2 separate regions of the Homo sapiens genome follow, and region 2 is linked to region 1. Evidence: promoter capture Hi-C in human tissues and cell types (Jung and others, 2019). All regions are on one chromosome and are shown on one strand. The core of a region is centred on a gene start or on the middle of the fragment in contact, and the rest is flanking DNA. Distances in the headings are between cores, read along the strand shown.

Evidence for each region. Contacts are between HindIII fragments. The study calls those that stand out against the background at their distance.
Region 2: a fragment that was not itself captured here is called in contact with the fragment with the promoter of FNDC9 in region 1 in 3 of the 25 tissues and cell types used here (H1 embryonic stem cells, dorsolateral prefrontal cortex and hippocampus).

The regions. Positions count from the first base shown.
Region 1 is chr5:157,342,399-157,347,927 of GRCh38, reverse strand. It overlaps FNDC9 (fibronectin type III domain containing 9), which reads left to right and starts at 2,251. Exons shown (of 2, transcript NM_001001343.4): 1 at 2,251-2,387; 2 at 4,385-5,529. The coding sequence starts at 4,392. The coding sequence ends at 5,066. All of the region lies in intron 23 of CYFIP2 (cytoplasmic FMR1 interacting protein 2), which reads right to left. The HindIII fragment of the contact is 6,264 bases long and covers 1-4,456 here.
Region 2 is chr5:157,267,449-157,271,619 of GRCh38, reverse strand. All of the region lies in intron 1 of CYFIP2 (cytoplasmic FMR1 interacting protein 2), which reads right to left. Among named protein-coding and RNA genes, the nearest start is that of CYFIP2, 3.4 kb to the right of the region's middle. The HindIII fragment of the contact is 6,073 bases long and covers 1-4,171 here.

The DNA of each region.
Region 1 (5,529 bases), core at 1,002-3,501:
CAGAGGAGCGGGATGAACCCTGGCCTCCGCCTCCGAGTCTGGGGCCCCACCCCATTTCACTGGCAGCTCTGCCACTCATCAGTCAAGCGGTCTGAGGAATGCCATGTCTTCTCCCAGGACTGTGAAACAAGAGGGCTTGGAGGCCTCACATTCTCTGAGTATCTTAATTCCACAGTGGAAAATTTCTCTTGGTTAAAAATGTCATCCAAGAATATTAAAAATAAATTCCAATTTTCTGTGGAAAAAGGCTTGAGTTCTACCTTGTTCCTCCTCAGACCCCTTAACTCTGGTATTTTTACTCCCCGCAAAATAACCTTTTCAAAGGGCATCTGCAAACAGCTGCGTGGCCTTTCTGTGGGGAGGATGCTTTTATGCTCCGTGGGGACTCACCATTAGCACTTGACCTGGCTGTGCTCGCATGGGAAGAGACATGCTGCATGCATTGCTGCAGATTTAAGACAGGCGCCTGGGAAGACTGAATGCCATGGGCAAGCTGCAGAGCAACTTTCTGATCAAGGAACACTGGCTTGTTCCCGAGTTCCCAAGACTCCAAGCCTCCCGGAGACCTTTGGCCAAGGGTAGGGTCACAACTCACCAAGGCGGCTCTTTTTTTTTTTTTTTTCCAAGGGAAAAAGTCTTTCTATAATACCCAGGCTGGTCTGGAACTCTTAAGCTCAAGTGATCCTCCCACCTCAGCCTCCCAAGTGGCTGGGACTACAGGTGCACACCACTGCAGCTGTGCCTGGCTTTCTTCCTAACCTTTTATCATTAATGTGAATCAGAAAGAGACCTTCATGGGTTAACTTGGATACTTTGGCCAAGAACCAAGAAGAGAAAAGCTGACTTTTAAAAACATATAATGTGTATAAATTTATTCAGGTCTACATCTATCTGAGCTACTTTCCACCCTCTATTCCAGACACACCCTGTGATCTCAATAGAATGGTGGCAATGGGTTCTTACAAGGTTGAAAGGAACAGGAAGGGATGGAACCTCAAAGCCAGACGGCCCTTTATGAGAAAAGGGGAGGCAAGCAGTCTGGATTCTTGAAAGGAAAGGAACGCTGGGGATGATTCAATCCAGGAGTAGCAAACAGTTTCCATTTCTGGCGTCAACTCCAACTGATTGATTGGGAAGCAGTTTCTTGGGACGCTTGTGTTCAGAGGAACTCTGGGGCTGTTTCTGCACCCAGCTGGAAGCAGTGCTGCATTAGATTCCTAGGGTTGCTATCACAAATTACCATAAATGTGGCAGCTTAACATGACAGAAATTTATTCTCTCACAGTTCTGGAGACCAGAAGCCTGAAATCAAGGCTCTCGCAGAACCATGCCCTCTCCAAGGCTCTAGGGGAGAATGTTTCCTTGCCTTCCCAGCTGCTGATGGCTCCCGGTGTTCCTTGGCTGATGGCAGCATCCTTCCACTCTCTGCCTCTGTTTTCCCTTGGCTTCTTCCCCTTGAGTCTCTCTGTCTTTTCTCTTACAAAGACATTAGTCATTGGATTTAGGGCTCACCCTTAAATCCAGGAAGATTTCATCTTGAGATCCTTAACTAGTTATATCTACGAAGGCTCTATTTCTAAATCAGGTCACATCCTAAGGTTCTGGATGGATATGTATTTTGGGGGGGCATTATTCAACCCAGTGAGAGTGCCATGATGGTTTAGCAAGCTTGACAGGGGTTCAGGGCTGTGCAGGGATAGGGCTCAGGTCTTCTGCCTTCTGATCTGCCATCCTGATGTAGCCCAAGCCCACAGCTTTACAGATGATGGTGGAACTGAGACTCAGACAATAAAAATAAAAGGGTCTTGACCAGTACCATATAACTATGTAATGGCACATGAGTCAAGAATAAAGAAAGATGAAGATAAAGAGGTGGGGTAGGCAGTTGGGATGGGGAAGTGTAGGGGTGGGAGGGGATGAAGATGAATATTACTGCTTTGGTTGTGGAATAACTGAGAAAAGCATCTTTGCATTTAAAACCATTGGCCAAAGAGGATCTAGATGGGACAAGAAAATAATAATCAGCCAACTGGGGAGAAAATGTAGGAGTGTTAGAAGAATTAGTACTGCACTGGGGACCAGTTTTCAGGGGATCATCTGCCCTTTTTCAGCCAAAGGAATGAGAGCTCCTCTCACTGGGCAAAAGCCTTTCCAGGCTGGTCCCTGAAAGCATCGTGCGTACAGATGCCTGCTGGTTGCCATGGTGAATGATGCTGATCTGAAGAAATGAATAATGTGAGCATTAGGGGCGGCAGTGGGATTACTCAGTGTTGAGAGAAACAACACGGAAAGCCCAGAGCAGAGGAGGGAGAAGGCCCCATTCTCTCAGCTTTAATCTACTGCACCTCGGAGGGCAGAGCTCTAACCAGACACGCTGCAAGCATCAGGTAAGACATATAGATGGCTCTTCTTGGAAATGGAAATGGCTTCTTTTCACACTCTGCTTGGAGAAGGGCCGGGCAAATGAATAGTTAAAAATAGGGGAGAATTTAGAAACGGAAACAGAGGAAGAAAAATCAATAAGGGAGACGGACCTGGTCCTAAAAGGTGAGGATGCTATTTGCGTCTTGACAGAAAGCTCTTAAAAATGTCTGCTGAGGTAATTCCATCTGTACAGACAGCTAGTGGCAGATAGGAAGCCAAGAGAACATTTGTGCGTGACAAGAAACAGGATTCCTGATTACTCCTGATGGAAAGGTTTTACACAGGTGGCTGCCTATAATGAATTAAGCTCTTTTCATCGTGGTCGAAAGTGTATTTATAGTGATGTGTGGTGTGGGGAGGATGAGTGTGTAGAGGACACCAAGCTAGGAAACATAAACATTCGGTCTCCTTCATGATGACCTTCCCTGGAAGGGTCTGAGCACATCCGTCTCATCCCTTTCGTTCCCTATTTACTGGGAAGAAATATTCAGCCACATAGAAAGACACTATTCACCTTCCTGAGTATCTTAGTTCACTGTTACCCTTACAGAAGAAAAACAAGGATTAAGAAACTACTCAATGCTGTGCACCTTTCTGCAGCTCCACTCCTGGAGGAAAATGGGCACAAACACAAGAGGATGGGGGAAAGCAGAGGTGAGAGAAAGGCAGGTCATAATAGCCATTGGTTTGGCTTAATATCCAATGCAGGCGAAAATCCAGTTGACAGCTGTTTACTATGTCACTGCAACCCAAAATGAAACCTACGGGGTTTCATGTGAGGGAGGAGAGGCGGAAGACAAAGCAGGGTGAGACTGTTATGTGAATATGCGTAGGCTGACTATGACTGTCTCTGTATTTCTGATCAGGGGCAATCAGTAGAGGGAACTGCATGAGAGAAACTAAAATACTTGAAGATGGCTCTCTCTTATCAAAGCGGGGCCTGGCAATCTAAAGAGGGCTCATTTGATTTGTCTGGAAAAACAGCAACTGGGTCTCAGTCCTGGCACCTCATTTTGCGATAACGTCTGTAACTAAACCCGGCAGCCTTGCATTAGGAAATGTAGTGGTTAGGCGGCACTAAGTCCTTTTTCTACGTATTAGCGGTGTGACATCAGGTTGCTCATCCGTAAAATGGGAATCTAGCTCAGAGGATGTGATGAAGAATAAAGGAAATTAATTACTGCCTGTGAATCATCTAGCATGACAAGTGACATAGCAACCACTTACTGTGAGTGGTTATTACCATGATTAACATTCATAATAACAGCAGAATTAAATAGTGGTAGTTATGCTGATATTAGGGGCTGATTATCTTCACCCATAAAATAAATTTCCTGGTACCGCTGGCTTTGAAAAAACAAACAAACAAAACAAGAGCAGAAGCTTTGGGGTGAGATCAGCTGCCAAAGAGTGACGAAGCGAATTTCCACTCACCATGGGCAACAGAACCAGGAGGCTAAAAAAAGCAGTGGGCAGAATGTTCTAGATCACTGAGCTCACAGTACTTGGAGCAGAAACAGGAGGTCAAGAAGGAAAATTGAGGTGAATCAATTGCCTGAGGGGAGGTCACAGACCTGAGAATAAAGGTGGAGCCTCTGAGGTTCTACTGATTTCTCCTTACCTTTTCTTCTTTTTTCTTAAGGGGATGAGAACAATCCCCTTAAGAAAATCCCCTTTGTTATCTGAAGGATCTCAGCTAGGGTGGGATGTGGCTGGGATTGCATGGGTGCATCTGTTCTTAGGCCTGAACTTTGGCATGGGACAGCCCCAGTTTTAACTTTTGTCCTGCCACTTTTTCGCTATGCCTAAATAACAGAACCTCTCGGCCTCCATTTCTTTGTCTGTAAGATGAGGGCAACATGAGTGCCCGTCTCAAATGTGCAATAAATGGTGGCTATGATTATGATAAATACATACTTAAATCAGGGGATGTCACTCTTCACTTTGATTCTGGTTCCAGAATCGGGATGAACATCGAGGTGGGGAACATTTCTTATACAGGAGCCATCATCTCCTGGTCGTCCTCGGAGCCCTGCCTGGAGGACTATTACCATATTATGTACAGGCCCAACTGGAACAGCATCTTCTCTGGCTATCTTCGCTACAGCTTCCACCACGAGGAGAAGGTGCCTCGAACGATCAGCTCCGTGGTGCTGGAACATCTTGCCCCTTCCACTCTCTACTTCCTGTGCATCAGCTGTAAGAAGGCTGCCTTCCCTTACAGGCACTACTGCACCATGTTCCACACCCTGGATAAGAGTCCGCTGGCTCCTGGAAGCTCCCTGGTAGACCCCCAGATCTCCCTTTGGGTGCTGATGGCCATTCTGCTGGCCTGCTTCACAGCCGTCTTGGCCTTCATCTGCCTCCAGTTCTGGTGTGTCCGTTGCCATGAGCCGCGATGGTCTTACAGGGCTGGCCACATGGAGGAGGCCAATGGGTTGGTGAGATGGCCAGAGGAGGCCCCGGATCTTGGTCAGAGGGAGGAAGACCTGCAGGGGCTCCCCCTGGTGGAAATGCCACGCAAGAACTCCAGAGATGGAGCTGAACTGGATCCCGAAGCCAACCAGGATGCCCCTGATGCGGGTGCCTTACAGAGGGGGGGTGGTGACCCACCCGCTATACTGCCTCATTGTGGGGAATGAGAGTGGGGAGGAGAGCGCCCGCATCATGTAGCCTAAAGCTTTCCACACAGTAGGTCGTTTGTACAAATGTGTCTATAGACTACCCATTTCTCTCCCATCAAACGTCACTGCTATTGTAGGTCACCTGGGTTGGATGAATGCCCCATGACAAAGCTTCTCAAGCTGGAAAATGTATCCCCCAGGGTATGCCAAGGCACAAACGAGGCATCTCAGCAGCAGCGTCCACTCGGAGGACACAGTTAAGAATTGAAAGCATTGTTTTAACATTAAAACAAACATGGATATGTTATAAAGTAGAAAGCAAAAATTTGCATGACAAATAAAACACAGCACTTGAAGGAAACACTTGAGTTACAAGTAGGCTCTCAGAGGTACACTTTTGGGCAAAGGTAGATGTCCAGTTTCCTCTGCCCTTGAGGGGATTATTTGGAAATAATTTGGGATTATTTGGAAATAATTTGTG
Region 2 (4,171 bases), core at 73-2,572, 75 kb after region 1:
TTGCGGGTAACTTGTGCTAATAATAGCTTAAGCACTGAGGTTTGCAAACAAGGTACATTTTATTGTATGTGAGGCGAGGGTTCAAGATCTCTGTGTGATATTATTGCTTGCATGTTCATCTCTTCCCTTGAGTGGCAGGAATGGAGCAGAGTTGGGGGGTTGGCTGTGGGGGCTGATGTGTTCAGCATGTCAACATTGTCCATTTTGTGTACTAAAAAAACCACAACAGCAACCAGTTAAGAATCACTGGATTTGGGCCTCTCTCAGGACCCTCCCAACACTAAAGCAAATGACCATGACTACAGTTGAGACATTCCATCCAAAGGGCTTCCTTAAAGACATGTGTTAAGGATCATGCAGACCATTCTCTGTGGCCAAGGTATACAGGGCATAATAAACCTGTCCAAGGATACTCTTCCTTTGTGCCTTTGCTCAAACTGTCTCCACTCCCTTATGGACTGTCTTCTTCCCTTCTCAAATCTTACCGATCTATCATGGCCCACACGAAGACATGCCTTTTCCACAAAGGTCTGACCAGCCAAGCCCCTTAATGACCTTTATTTCTCTCACTCCCTTAGCACTCACAGTCTAGAGTCCACAGTTTTTAACTGCACGACAAACTGCTTTATATTTCACTAATTCTTTGGATTGCTAAGAATGCCAAGGATAGTCATCTTATCTGAGTTTGACCCATAGCAACCAGCACAGAGATAGGCACACACCAGGAATTACTTGCTTAATTAATACTTCATGAATGATTTGTTGACTGCATGAGCCAATGACCAAAATTCTTAACTTCTGGTTTAAAAAAATTAACAAGAAAGTTAAAATATCATGCTTCTCTAAGGTCCCATATCCAAGGCTGCCTTGTCAATATAAGAATCTGAGGAGAGTTCTTTAGAAAATCCTTCTGTCGTATAGTTTCCACTTCAAACCCTAAGAAGCAGGTCCTCATTTCTCTTTCCCATATGGAAGTATAACAGACTTGGAGATAGGGGGCTGACCTCTAGTTCTGAATTCTTATCTTGCCATTCATATCTTGCCAAAACAAATCTTAAAGCATCATATTTTAAAAGCACAAATCAAAAATAGTTCTCGGATATTCCTTAAGAGTTACTGCATGTCTTCTCTGAGGGTCAGCCCTGCAAATTCTCTTTGATCTCAGCCAGGCCTTCAGTGAAGTTAGACAATTCTCTCATTCTTCCCCAGTTTATTTCTTATTCCACCCACATAGGCAACTGTTCCAAACCCTGAAGTCTCCTGAAGTTTCCTAACCAGTCCATCACCTTTATTTCCTGCAGAGGACCTCACCTCCTGCCTTACTTAGAAAACAGAGAACATGGACAGACTAAACACACCTCTGTTTTACCTAGAGATTAAAGCCTAAGAACCATTGCTCTACAATGACCAAATAATGACGCAAACAGAATCAAAAGGTCTACTGATGAAGTCATCACTGGGTCTTTCTCAGGCATCTCGCAAGAAGGTCCTATTTACTTCCCTCTCTCACTGCCTGTATCTGAGTTGCCCAAAGTCTATCAAAATGCCACGCAACCAGAATGATCCCTGCAAGAAATTCTGCCTGAACTCAAGCTCTGCCTTCTCAAAACAATTTCTTTCAAGAATTTGCACCCTCTGTTGCCAGGGCCCAAGTATGGCTTAAATGGCTATTTTTTGAGGTACATCACACACAGCCCTTAGCATAATGCCCATGGCTAGAAAGCCAATATCTAAGCTCTTTGCATCCTGGGAGGCGTCCCATACCCACTGACTGAATTCTGAAGTGTCTTTGTACAGACAAGGCCATCCAGGGGCCTTGACAGAATCTGTGAATCACAAAGTGCCTTTAAGCTTCCCATTGGCTCAACAGTACAGAGAGGCCACAGATCCATCTTCTTAAAGTGACACACAATATATAATTAATAAATTGTTTCTTAAGGAATGGAGGGCATTTACCCAAAAGAGTCACACATTCAGGAGGCTCCTTCTCTATTTCCACGGCTTTTTTTTCTCAGACTGGGATTTACAGACATTACCTCATCCGCAGGCTTTCATGATGACAGGCAGGTAACAGTTGGGCAGGCTGCCTTCCATTGCTCAATTTTGAACGTCAGAGAGGTAGTGGCTGGTTTAAGGGCACACAGCAAGTCAGGGATCCTGTGTCCCATGCTCACTGTGCTGCTCTGTCTGCCCTGGAAGCAAAGCATGCCCTCAACATTTTTGGATGGTTGCAAAATGCTGAATTCTCACAGAGGAAGAGGCCCTTCCTTAACTCTACGTGTTGAAATGTGAGAATGGCCCTGGGCTTCTGCTTGGCTTGTTCCCTCCCACTTCTCCCTACCTACTCAGGTTCCACCCACCTCTCTTGTGCTACTTAAGAGCACTTCCCACCTGAAGCCTTTCACTTCATGCCCTATCACTCTTAACTTTCCCTTCCTTCGGCCGGTAAACTTGGGGCTGGGTTTACTGGTCACAGAGACCAACTTCCCTCAAAAAAGCAAAATTCAGGAAAGCTCTGGAGGGAGAGGGGCTGGTAATAGCCAAGGGTTGATTACATACATAAGCCAAATTCTTAATGATTATGTAATTAATACATTATAACAATAAATACATAAATATGCTAGTACTTACTATGTGCTAAGCATTCTGCTCGGCACTTTCATGCACCCCTTGGGTAGTAAGAGCATCCAAAGATATTCTAGTTCCTCCCCTGCCTCCATTCACTGCCAAGAAGGCAGCAGCCTGCCCCCCTTCTCCCACCATCTCACTACTGATGCAGGGGCCATCCCCTGGACCCTAGGCATGGCTTTGCTCCTCAGAATGACAGGACCAAAAGCCTTTCATAAAGACTCCAGTGAGGTGACTGATGTCTGGCTTTGTCAATTACAAGTGAATAATTAATACTTGCCAGTAAAGAAATAGACTCATTGTTACGGTGGCCACATGGAGGCTACAAAAGGCCATTTTGTGACGCTTTTGGTGGACCCCTGGGGCCAACAGTGGTCCAAAGAAGCTGCGTTGAGAGTGTAGTCCAATCTTTAAACGTAGGGACTGGGACCCGTACTGTTTTCCAGGAGCGCTTTTCCCGTTAATTAGCTTGTAGCCGATTCATCATCTCATTCAGCTTTCTGGTTGATGACAGCAGCAGAGGCCACTGAACATCAGAGAGGGCATGATTTATCAGAGGGGTCATGTAGTGTTCTACCAGGGCCTTTTACCGGTTTTTGAATTCATGTCTACTTCCTTCTCTGGGCCAGCATCTGATTTGAGTAAAACTCTCCAACCCCACTGGGTTGTACATCCGACTCTTGGCCTAATGCCTAAAGCAAGTTTTTCCTTTTTCATTTTCCAGCAGGGACTGAACAAGGCAGCCTTGGGTGCCTACAGAACCGGTCAGAACTGGCCAGGAAATATAATAAAGAAGCTTAGTGAGCAGAGAGCTAATGCCCCCAGCCAGAGGCTCAGTGCGCACAACTAGCTAGAGGCACTGACTTTGTAAGCAACAACACTATCTTCTTGAGGTCTAATAATTGCCTTGGCAAAGGGCAGCCAATGCCAACGAGGAACCCTGTGTACACAAGTTTCTCATCCCGAAAGTGGACACTGGGTGCTCAAAAAATGCCTTCTGGTGACAGTAACACCTGACCAGTCAAACAAACATGCACGCATGCACATGCATGCATACACACTCTTACAGCATTCCTGCCTGCAGGGCCAAAGCTGCCCTTGCCAAATACAGAGCTGACAGCTGCTAGATATTGTCATTTCAGGGACCCGTTCCCAAAAGAACTACCCAGCTCCCCACCTCCACTTCCAGCCCACTGTTTGAAATTCTACCATTAGTGATAGCAAATATTTCTACAGTGTTTCCCATTAAAGCTTTGTTTCCCATTAAAATGCCTCCATCCTCTGTTTCTTTTCCGGTCAAATGACTTGTAAAGCACCTGCTCTGCATCAAATGGGAACTTCTTTTGTATTTAGCTCTTCAAGATAAACACAATCATTGGCTCCTTTCTTGAAAACCATTTCTGACACTGGAGACTGGGGGAAGGGCAGGGCACTGTATGGAAGTGGAGGTGGGAGGCCACCAGGAGGGCCACAGAGAGAGGGTCTAATGGTGGAGAAAGCAACCATCAAGGCCTTCACAGGCCTGCCCAAAGATATGGACCTG